2 separate regions of the Homo sapiens genome follow, and region 2 is linked to region 1. Evidence: promoter capture Hi-C in human tissues and cell types (Jung and others, 2019). All regions are on one chromosome and are shown on one strand. Each heading gives the region's core, a stretch centred on a gene start or on the middle of the fragment in contact. The rest is flanking DNA. Distances are from core to core; before and after follow the strand shown.

What was found. Contacts are between HindIII fragments. The study calls those that stand out against the background at their distance.
Region 2: a contact is called between the fragment with the promoter of PSMC4 here and the fragment with the promoter of RPS16 in region 1, in 1 of the 25 tissues and cell types used here (lymphoblastoid cells).

The regions. Positions count from the first base shown.
Region 1 is chr19:39,434,069-39,439,620 of GRCh38, forward strand. RPS16 (ribosomal protein S16) reads right to left here and starts at 1,881. Exons shown (of 5, transcript NM_001020.6): 1 at 1,780-1,881; 2 at 1,539-1,640. The coding sequence starts at 1,827. RefSeq lists enhancers at 1,075-1,654, 3,318-4,086 and a silencer at 2,035-2,134. The HindIII fragment of the contact is 40,426 bases long and covers 1-5,552 here.
Region 2 is chr19:39,968,806-39,974,357 of GRCh38, forward strand. It overlaps PSMC4 (proteasome 26S subunit, ATPase 4), which reads left to right and starts at 2,360. Exons shown (of 11, transcript NM_006503.4): 1 at 2,360-2,433; 2 at 3,341-3,439; 3 at 3,564-3,750; 4 at 5,489-5,552. The coding sequence starts at 2,398. It overlaps LOC124904720 (a long non-coding RNA gene), which reads right to left and starts at 2,166. Exons shown (of 3, transcript XR_007067260.1): 1 at 2,075-2,166; 2 at 1,549-1,631. RefSeq lists enhancers at 1,680-1,729, 2,230-2,619, 2,644-3,323. The HindIII fragment of the contact is 6,535 bases long and covers 1-2,482 here.

The DNA of each region.
Region 1 (5,552 bases), core at 631-3,130:
GCTGAACAGTAAGGAGCATTCCAATAGCTTCTGAAACTCCCAAGGCTGTTTCAAGTAGTCGAAAGCCATCCCTGGACTGTTCAGGTGCCTTTTCTATTTCCCACCTGAGCTCTCTGCCCTTTCTTTGAGCCTCACAGGTTTCCAGAATTACAGTACAACCTGTCCCTGGTCCCTAGACCCTTCCCAGCTCCAGGTCTTTTACCAGTGCCTCTGTCTGGATACTTCCTTTACCTGCTTTCAGCTCACAGGTCTCCTTCCCCAGTTCTGACCACTTTGGATCAGCTTCTGGTATTGGGCCCAGTCCTTCTCCCCAACTAGGCTGGCAGGTCCATGAAGGCAAGACCTTAAGTCATCTGGATCACTGCTATGTCCCCAAAACTCAACAGAGGGTACACATACAAATCCTTCAAATACAGTGACAGCCAATAACAGTAACATTCAACATCTGCTACACAAAGGAAATCTCAGAATTTTTATTAAATTCTAGGCCAGGCATGGTGATCACACCTGTAATCCCAGTCCAGGCAGAAGGATCACATGAGACCAAGGACCAGCCTGGGCAATAAAGTGAGACCCCACGTCTACAGAAAAATATTTCTCAAATGAGCCAGGCGTGGTGATGTGCCTGTAGTCTTGGCAACCGAAAGGCTGAGGTGGGAGGATCTCCAACTCAGGAGTTTAAGGCTGCAGTTCATTAGGATTGTGCTATTGCACTCCAGGGTAGGTGACAGCAAGATACTGTTTTTAAAAAAGAACCTTATAACTCAAAAAAAATTTTTTTAACTGACCCTGCAATGTAGATATTCTTTCTTTTAAAAGTAGTAGAGTTCAGAAGGGGCAGAAATCAGACTCTGGTTTCTTTCCATTCTGAGCCAAAGAAATTGAGAGTCCCAAAAAGGGAACAGAGGAACCCCTTTTACAAGCAAGCATTTAAACAGACCCAAATTCGGCCGCACACGGTGGCTGACGCCTGCAATCCCAGCACTTCGGGAGGCCGAGGCTGGTGGATCACCTGAGGTAATGAGTTCGAGACCACTCTGGCCAATATGGCGAAACCCCGTCTCTACTAAAAATACAAAAATTAGCCGGGCGTGGTGGTGCATGCCTGTAATCTCAGCTACTCAAGAGGCTGAGGCAGGAGAATCGCTTTAACCCGGGAGGCGAAGGTTGCAGTGATCCGAGATCGCGCCACTACACTCCAGCCTGGGCGACACAGCGAGACTCCCTCTCAAAACAAATAAATAAAATAAAAAATAGTCGGTGTCCCTTCACCCTTTGGGTCCCCCCGCCCCAGTGAGGTGAGCTTCCTAACATCCCAGTTCTCAAAGCAAACCCTTAATCTTCAACAACCCCATCTCAGCTTTTACATCTTCTGAACCCCAAGCCCAGCTCTATTGCCAAATACCCCACTGTTCTACACCCAACACAACTTCTAAACATCCCGTTGCTGATGCCAGCCCCCCCAGCTTTCAAGAGCTACAACATCTCTGTCTCCAAGAGTCCTCCATCCACTCAACGCCGGTGCCGGATCCCAGCACCTTGTACTGTAGCGTGCGCGGCTCAATCATCTCCAGGGGCCGCCCGTTCACCTTGATGAGACCATTGCCGCGTTTGCAGTGCGCCACAGCTGTCGCTGTCTTCTGTAAGATACAAGAGAAACAGGGGCCCCGTGAGCTCCGGCTCCAGCTCCCATGTTACCCCCTAGATTCCTGCCCACCGACCTCTCCCAGACCCTGGCCTTCTCCTTCCCCTCCCCTTCCCATCCGGCGTCTGGCTCACCTTGCGTCCGAAGACCTGCACAGACTGCAGCGGGCCCTTGGACGGCATGGCTCCGAGCGTGGACTAGACAACCTCACCGCGCGGCGCCGCAACCGGAAAAGGAAAGCTAGGGGCCACCCTGGCCGCTTTTCAGGGTCTGCGCAGGCGCCTTGAGCACTGCGTCGCGACGGGAGAGAGCTTTACGGCTTCTGTTGCGGCTAACGGGCGGGGCGTCTGGTCAGCGGCGGGAAGGCCCTTAGGCGCTCAGAGCGGGCGGGCCCTGTGAGGCGGAAGTGGCGGGCTCTGTGGGCGGAAGGGGCGGGGCCTGGGAGTGTCGTGTGCGGACTGAAGGGAAGGCTGCGGGAGTGTGCTTCGCGTCCTCTGTAGTCGACTACCGCAGCTCTTCTTTGCATTCTGGCTCTTTAATAATCTCCCTTCGCCCTTTCTTTAAATCAGTTCCCACCCTCCCAACACCTGTAATCTTTCTCCCCTCTGGACTCCCTCCTCCCCGAATCCCCCGCATCAGAATCTTCCTTTGGAATCTACTGCAAGAAATCTGGCTGGATTCTCAGATTAAGGACTTCCAGAATCCTATCCTCCCTAGAATCCCCCTCCTTGGGGATCCTCTCCCAGAATCCTTTTCCCCTCAGAGCCCCTTCCCCTCAGAATCTCCCTTTCACCAGAATGTCCTTCCTTTCAGTTTCCTCTTCCCAGAATGTTTCCCATCCTTCTCTCAGATGGCCAACCCCAAATGTCCCTCTTAAGAGTGCTCAACTTAGACCCCCCTTTTCCCTGAATCTCCCTCCATTCGGTCCTCGTCCCCTCAGTCACCCTTCCCAGAATCTTTCTCTTGTCAGGACCCAGTACCCCTGGAATCTCCCTCCTCCAGAATCTCCCTTTCCCGGCAAATCCCCCTTTCCCGGCAAATCCCCCTTTCCCAGAACACCCCGCCCCGCAAATCCACAAAAACTTTTCTCTCAGAGACCCGTCCCTCAAAATCTACCTTTCTCCTGAGTTTATTTCCCTTCCGAGACTCCTCTTCCCAGCAACTGCCTTCCCTGGAGTTTTCCCTCCGTTAGAATCCCCCTCTCCTAAGAGACCCTCCCCCAAGAATTAACCTCTTCCCCGTCCCCACCCTAGAATCTCTCTCTTTTTTTTGAGACGGAGTTTCGCTCGTTGCCCTGGCTAGAGTGCAGTGGTGCGATCTCGTCTCACTGCAACCTCCGCCTCCCGGGTTCAAGAGATTCTCCTGCCTTAGGCTCCCGAGTAGCTGGAATTACAGGCGTCTACCACCACGCCCTGGTCGTTTTTTGTATTTTTAGTAGAAATGGGGTTTCACCACGTTGGCCAGGCTGGTCTCGAACTCCTGACCTCAGGTGATGTGATCCGCCTCAGCCTCCCAGAGTCCTGGGATTACAGGCGTGAGCCACCACGCCCGGCCGAATCTCTCTGTTTTTTGTTTTTTTTTTTTCTTTTTTTTGAGACAGAGTCCTGCTCTGTCGCCCAGGCTGGAGTGCAGTGGCATGATCTCTGCTCACTGCAACCTCTGCCTCCCCGGTTAAAGCGATTCTCCTGCCTCAGCCTCTTGAGTAGCTGAGATTACAGGCATGCACCACCACGCCCGGCTAATTTTTGTATTTGTAGTAGAGACGGGGTTTCACCATATTGGCCAGACTGGTCTCGAACTCCTGACATCAAATGATCCACTCATCTCAGCCTCCCAAAGTGCTGGGATTACAGGCGTGAGCCACCGCGCCCAGCCCCTAGAATCTCTTTCTCCAGAATCTCCCAGTCATCTTTTTCCTCTCCCCCAAATCACCCTCCACTTAAGCCTCCTCCCCACAGAATTCTCCATCCCCAGCCCCCCAACCCCACCTGAGGAACCCCAGGATTGGGTTGTCCTCTGGTTCCCCGGCAGATGTCCCTGCGTCTCACCCCATCAAGAGTCTCCCCAGCGAAGAGGTTCCTCTCTCAGAGCTAGAGGGAGCCCACAGTTGCCTCAGTTTCTCTGGCAGTACAGGGTCTGGGATCCAGGGTTCAAAAGGGCGTCGTGGTGCACCTTGCCAAAGAGGGTGGAGACAGGGAGACACTGGAGGGCAGGTCTGGGGCCAGAGGGAAAAGCCAGCCCGGAGTCCAGCTCTAAAAGGGTGAGGGGGGAGGGGGCTGTTGGGAGGGAGGAAGGAAGTACCCAGAGGCTGACCGGGAGGGACACAGACACAGCCCAAAGAAATGTAGGCACAAGTGGAGAAGAAGAGAAAGATGAAAGGCCAAGGGAGAAGAGGAGGAGAAAAGGGAGAGACCAGGACAGTCAAGAGATGGACCCCCAAAACAAGCCCAGTGACAGATTTAGAGGCAGAGAGGCCAACCCTCAGACAAAAAAGAGATAAAGGCAGGCATGATGTTTCCAAAATACTTGAGACAGAGGCCAGGTGCAGTGGCTCACACCTATAATCCCAGCACTTTGGGAGGCCAAGGCAGCAGGATCACTCGAGCCCAGGGTTCAAGACCAGCCTGGCCAACATGGTGAAACCCCGCCTTTACTAAAAATACAAAAATCAGCTGGGCATGGTGGCAGGTGCCTGTATCCCAGCCACAAGGGAGGCTGAGGCAGGAGAACCGCTTGAACCCGGGAGGCGGAGGTTGCAGTGAGCTGAGATGTCGCCACTGCACCCTAGGCTGGGCGCCAGAGCAAGACTCTGTCTCAAAAATAAATAAATAAATAAACTCTGTCTCAAAAATAAATAAATAAAATAAAATAAATAGAGCAGAGACCTCAAATATTCACTTGCAGACACAGATAAAGGCTAGCACAGGTGTTTTCCAATGAAGACACAGGCAGATGAGAGGATGCACACATTCTACCTGTACTTTTTCTTTTTTTTTTTTTAAATTGAGATAGAGTCTGTGTCACCCAGGCTGGAATGCAGTGATGCAATCTGAGCTCACTGCAACCTCCACCTCCCCGGTTCAAGTGATTGTCCTGCTTCAGACTCTGGAGTAGCTGAGATTACAGATTCTCCTGCTTCAGACTCCTGAGTAGCCCAGATCACGGGCCTCCACCACTATGCTTGACTAATAATTTTTCTTTTTTTTTTTTGAGATGGAGTATCGCTCTGTCGCCCAGACTGGAGGGCAGTGGCTTGATCTCAGCTCACTGCAACGTCAGCTTCCTGGGTTCAAGCAATTCTCCTGCATCAGCCTTCCAAGTAGCTGGGATTAAAGGCATGCACCACCATGCCCAGCTAATTTTTGTATTTATTAGTAGAGACAGGGTTTCACTATGCTGGGCAGACTAGTCTTGAACTCCTGACCTCAAGTGATCCACTTGCCTCGGCCTCCCAAAGTGCTGGGATTACAAGTGTGAGCCACTGTGCCTGGCCACTAATTTTTGTATTTTTTAGTAGAGACAGGGTTCCATCGTGTTGGCCAGGCTGGTCTTGAACTCCTTACCTCAAGTGATCCGCCCACCTCGGCCTCCCAAGGTTCTGGGATTACAGGTGTGAGCCACAGCGGTTGGCCTAGCCTGCACTGTCTTAAGGGCCTGTTGGGCAGGGGAGTTCAGGTTCTCTCGTCTCTCCAGATTGATCTTCACACATTTGCTAAGTCTCGTATCGTCCCTGAGCTTGGGAGTCAGGGAGCGCTCTGACCTAAGCCCTCCTGACTTTGGGGTCACCATCTTTCCCCAGCCTCTATGGGCACACTCCCTGAATTATCTGTGGCTTGAGTGGAGCAAGCAGGGGATGGGATGAGGGGTGGCGGGGGAGTTCCCCTCATCCACTTCAGCCTTCCAGTCT
Region 2 (5,552 bases), core at 1,110-3,609, 540 kb after region 1:
CTTCTGGTCTGTGTTTGTTATGGCTTGAGCTGAGCTTTCGCTCACTGTCCACCGCTGCTGTCTGCTGCCATGGCAGCTGTGGCAGACCTGCCGCTGACTTCCACCCCTCCGGATCCGGGTGTCCACTGCACTTCTGATCCAGCGAGGCGGCACCCATTGCCGCTCCCAATTGGGCTAGAGGCTCACCATTGTTCTTGCGCGGGCTAAGTGCCCGGGGTTCCTCCTAATCGAGCTGAATAGAGCTATAACACTCACCGCATGGCCCAAGATTCCATTCCTTGGAATCCGTGAGGCCAAGAACCCCAGGTCAGAGAACAAGAGACTTACTGCCATCTTGGAAGCGGCCCACCACCATCTTGGGAGCTCTAAGAACAAGGACCCCCAGTAACAATAGCACTATAACACCCCTAAACTGGAAAATATCCAGTCTGAGGTATAGGGCATAGTCATAAAATGGAAACCATCCAGAATGAAAATGAAAGAACTATTTCTACACACGGTATGCATGAATCTCACAAAAACAACATTAACTAAAAGAAACCAAACACAGTACACAGAGTACTGGTCTAGAGAGAAGGAGAATTCAAAACAAACAAAAGTAACCCAGCTGTTACAAGTCAGGGCGAGTCCAGCCAGGCACAGTGGCTCATGTCTGTAATCCCAGCACTTTGGAAGGCTGAAGTGGGAGGATCATCTGAGTCCAGGAGTTCGTGACCAGCCTGGGCAACACAGCGAAACCCTATCTCTACAAAAAACATTTTAAAATTAGCAAGGCGTGGTGGCACACGCCTGTAGTTCCAGGTGCTTGGGAAGCTGAGGTATAGGATTGCTTGAGTCTGGGAGGTTGAACCTGGAGTGAGTAGTGATCTCACCACTGCACTCCAGCCTGGGCAACAGAGCAAGAATCTCTTTCAAAAGATATATTTTTAAAGGCTACATGGGGTGGGTCATGCCTGTAATCCCAGTGCTTTCAGAGGCTGAGGAGAGAGGATAGCTTGAGGCCAGCAGTTGGAGACTCTAGTGAGCTATGATCGTGCCACTGCACTCCAGCCTGGGCGACAGAGACTCTAGCTCTTAAAAAAAAAAGAAAAAAACAGATGAATGATAACCTTTAGAAGGGATCGGGAGGCCGGATGTGGTGGCTCACGCCTATAATCCCAGCACTTTGGGAGGCCAAGGCAGGCAGATCACTTGAGGTCAGGAGTTTGTGACCGGCCTGGCCAACATGGTGAAACCCTGTCTCTACTAAAAATACAAATATTAGCCTGGGCAACAGAGTGAGACTCCGTCTCGGGGCGGGGAGTGGAGGGGGGAGAAGAAGGGATGGGGGAAAGGGGAGCACATGAGGCTTCTACTGTTTGGTTTTGCGATCTGGATTCAGGTTGTATGGGCATGTTCACTTTGTGTAATTTTGTCGAGCTGTAATGATTTGTGCTCTTCTCTTTATTTAACTTCAATAAAAGGTTTACTTAACAAAAATTGTAGCTGGTGTGAAGGGTAGCAGTGTTTCCCTGGGGCCAAGAGTACAGGCTTTGGGGACAGACAGACCTGGGTCCCAATCTATGCTTTGTCCCTTCGGCACATTGTTGACTGTGGCTGGTGGCTTCGTGGCTCTGAGCTTGTCTCCTTCTCTATAAATGAGGAAACATAATACTTGCGACGATGATGCCTGTAAAGCTTAAGCGCAGGACCTGGCATAGATCTGTAAGGCGGAAACCTGGGATACAGAACTAAGGTCTATGGATCTCCTGTGCTACCCAACTTCTGGGCACTCGCTGCCTCCTTTTCCCCAGCCCAGACGCGTGGGTTCTACTCGATTGGTTGCTCACTGCGGGCTCGGGGCTCCTCAATCCCGGGGTAAAGCCCAGTATGAAATGTCACCTTCAGGGGCAGCTCGGATCTTCCCACGCCCGCGCGGCGCACAATCTTTGGATCAGCGCCACGTGGAGACCTTACCCGCCCGTACGATCAATCCCTTCTGTGGAACCCAGCTCAAGGACCCTCCAGCCCAGACACTAGAAAGCGAAGAGCAGTTGGCCGCCAGACTGTCCGTGCCAGAGCTCTGCGAACTTACTCCGTTGAAAGAGCAACGGGGCTGCGCCACCTCCCGGAGAGAACCCCCAGCCCTCCACGGCAGGGCGAGATGGCGCCACCGCGTGATACTGCGCACGCCCACAGCTCCCGTCCCGCCCTCGCGCCTGCGGGTACGGACAGCGCATGAGCTTATGTTGAGGGCGGAGCCCAGACCAGCCCTTCGTCCTATCCTGCCCTTCCAGCACCTCTCAGCCGTAACTTAAACTACACTTCCCAGAAGCCTCCTCAGCCAGGGACTTCCGTTGTCGTCAGCGGAAGCGGTGACAGATCATCCCAGGCCACACAGAGGCCGGCTTGGTCACTATGGAGGAGATAGGCATCTTGGTGGAGAAGGCTCAGGTACAGTGGGGACTTGGGCTTTTTAGTCCGGGCCGGGCTCGCGGGGAGAGGGTGAAGCCAGACCTGAGTGGGGGGAGGAATGGCTTCCAGGACCCCGGCCCAGGTTGGGGTTATTTTAGAGGCCTCGGTGGAGAGCTTTGTGCCATTCGAAGGCCTGTCTGGGTGGCCGAGTGATGGTAGGAGGTAAGGCTCAGAAAGCGGGGCTGGGGGAGTGAGTGACGTTAGTGGGTCTTTGAGACGGATTGATTTCGAACCCTGGCCGGTAGTGCTTAGTGAGGTCGGTGGCCCGGCGTTGGGATTGGGTCAGGCGGTGAGTGATATATGGGATCCCGCCGTGCGGCCGAGTGATCCCCGGGTCTGGGCTGCGGGGCTGACTGATGTTCAGGGCTTTGCTGATGGGGGTAATGGGGCGGGTAGTTAAGTATTATCTGTGGCTTGCCTGAGTGATATTTAGGTCTAAGGTGAGTTAGGAGACTGTGACATAAGGGATCTTTGAGGGGAAACTGGGGAATGTTGGGACTCGTTGAAGGCGCAGTCACTTTAACAGCCTATCTAGGAGAGCCATGTGACATTAGGAACCTCTTGAAGGGGATTGGGTGGCATTTGGGTCTGATAAGGAGTTGATGTGACGTTTAGATCCTAGTTGGGGGTTGTGTGACACTGGGGACATGTTATGAGTGGTATATGATAACATAAGATCTGTTTGAGGGGCAAGTTGACATAAAGAGCTTGTTTAGGTGGCCAAAAGGTTTCCAGGATCTATTTAGAGGGTCTTAAGATATCAGGGGTCTGTTAGGGGCTAAGTGACATCAGGGTGAAGTGGGGAGGGGAACAAACATTAGTGAAGTTGGGAAGCTTTCATGAGAGGACTGTCTTCTTCCAATGTGAGTTATCCCCTTTCGTCTAGGATGAGATCCCAGCACTGTCCGTGTCCCGGCCCCAGACCGGCCTGTCCTTCCTGGGCCCTGAGCCTGAGGACCTGGAGGACCTGTACAGCCGCTACAAGGTACATTCGACCCCCAACCCAGACCTTGCACAGGACCTGACATCTCATACTCTTCCCCACTTTCCACCACTCTCTGGATCAGCAAGTCTGGAGCCATCCCCTTCTGTCCCCTCTCTGCTCGCAGAAGCTGCAGCAAGAGCTGGAGTTCCTGGAGGTGCAGGAGGAATACATCAAAGATGAGCAAAAGAACCTGAAAAAGGAATTTCTCCATGCCCAGGAGGAGGTGAAGCGAATCCAAAGCATCCCGCTGGTCATCGGACAATTTCTGGAGGCTGTGGATCAGAATACAGCCATCGTGGGCTCTACCACAGGTGTGCTAAGGACACCTCATTCATTCATCTGTCCACTTAACAACTATTTCCTACCATGTGCTAGGCAGCAGCAAACAAGGCAGGGCAGTGCAGTGCAATGTTCTTCAGAGTATTTTGACTGATCGAAAGGTAGAAATACATACATATATATATATATACACATATATATATGTATATCTATGTTTTTTTTGTTTGTTTGTTTTTTGTTTTGAGACAGAGTTTTGCTCTTGTCCAGGCTGGAGTGCAATGGCATGATCTCGGCTCACTGCAACCTCCACCTCCCAGGTTCACACGATTCTCCTGTCTCAGCCTCCCAAGTAGCTGGGATTACAGGCATGGACCACCAAGTCTGGCTAATTTTTGTATTATTAGTAGAGACAGGGTTTCACCATGTTGGCCAGTCTGGTCTTGAACTCCTGACCTCAGGCGATCCACCCGCCTCACCCTCCGAAAGTGTTGGGATTACAGGCCTGAGCCCCACTGCACCTGGCCAGAAATGTATTTTACATTGTGATTATCTGTATCTGTCTCTTACTTTTTAGATAGATGTGTAAAACATAAGTTTCACCATGAAATATTTAGCCTTACTAGGTGTGGTATATGCTGATGTTTTCTATCCTATTCTAGTCTGTTTTGCTTTAAACACAGTTCTGGTCATGACCTTCCAAATTGATTTCACAACTACTACTGGTTTGGGGCCTGCAGTTTGAAACGATGAGTAGGAGTGTTAAGAGATTGGGCTCTGAGGCCAGGCATGGTGCCTCACACGTATAATCCCAGTACTTTGGGAGACTCAGGTGGGCAGATCACTTGAGGCCAGAAGTTTGAGACCAGGCTGGGCAACATGGCAAAACCCCGTCTCTACTGAAAATATAAAAATTAGCTGGGTGTGGTGGCACACACTTGCCATCCCAGCTACGCAGGTGGTTGAGGCACAGGATCTGTTGAACCCAGGAGGTGGAGGTTGCAGTGAGCCGAGATCGTGACACTGTACTACAGCCTGGGTGACAGAGCAACACTCTGTCTAAAAAAAAAAAAAAAAAAAAAAATACTGGGCCCTGATAGGGACTCAGAGTCCTTATCAGAGTATATTGTAGCTGCTGCTGTTTATATAGGTCTAGGCCTTGCCCTCTTGATAGTCATTGTCACTGGCATCTTATCTGTTTTTTCTTGTTTCTGGGCTCTGCTCCTCTGGACCAAGCCATGTTCTTGTAAAGGTTTTGGAGAAAGGTGTGCGATTGTGCCTGGAATTGGACTGGTGGGCTATGAGGAAGTGAGGAGAGGGTGGTATCCAGGATGAGGCCTTTCTCTTTGACCTGTGGGAGTTGGGATAGTGTGGCTTTCCCTGAGATGGCACCATGGGTAGAGGAGTAGGTTTGTGGGAAGACAGGGAGGGCAGTCCAGAGCACATGGGAGGTGTCCAGGAGGCTGCTGGTCAGCCAGGTCTGACAATCAGGAGAGAGACTGAGCCTGGAAACAGAAGTGTGCCTCACTAGTATGAGATGCAGGGGGAGGCCTGCTGGACAGCCAGGGCTGGATGTCAAGAGAGAATCAGGGCGGTAGACAAGGAGTTCGTGTGAATACTGGGGACGGACAGCAGGAGGGAAGGCTGGAGGCCGAGAGGGGACCCCTCAGGGTCTGAACCAGAGATGTTGGGGTGTGGAGATTAGGAGGGAGGAAGGGGGAAGGGGCAGTTTCCAGGCTGACACTTCTCGTTTTCCTCTCTCCCTTCTCGCAGGCTCCAACTATTATGTGCGCATCCTGAGCACCATCGATCGGGAGCTGCTCAAGCCCAACGCCTC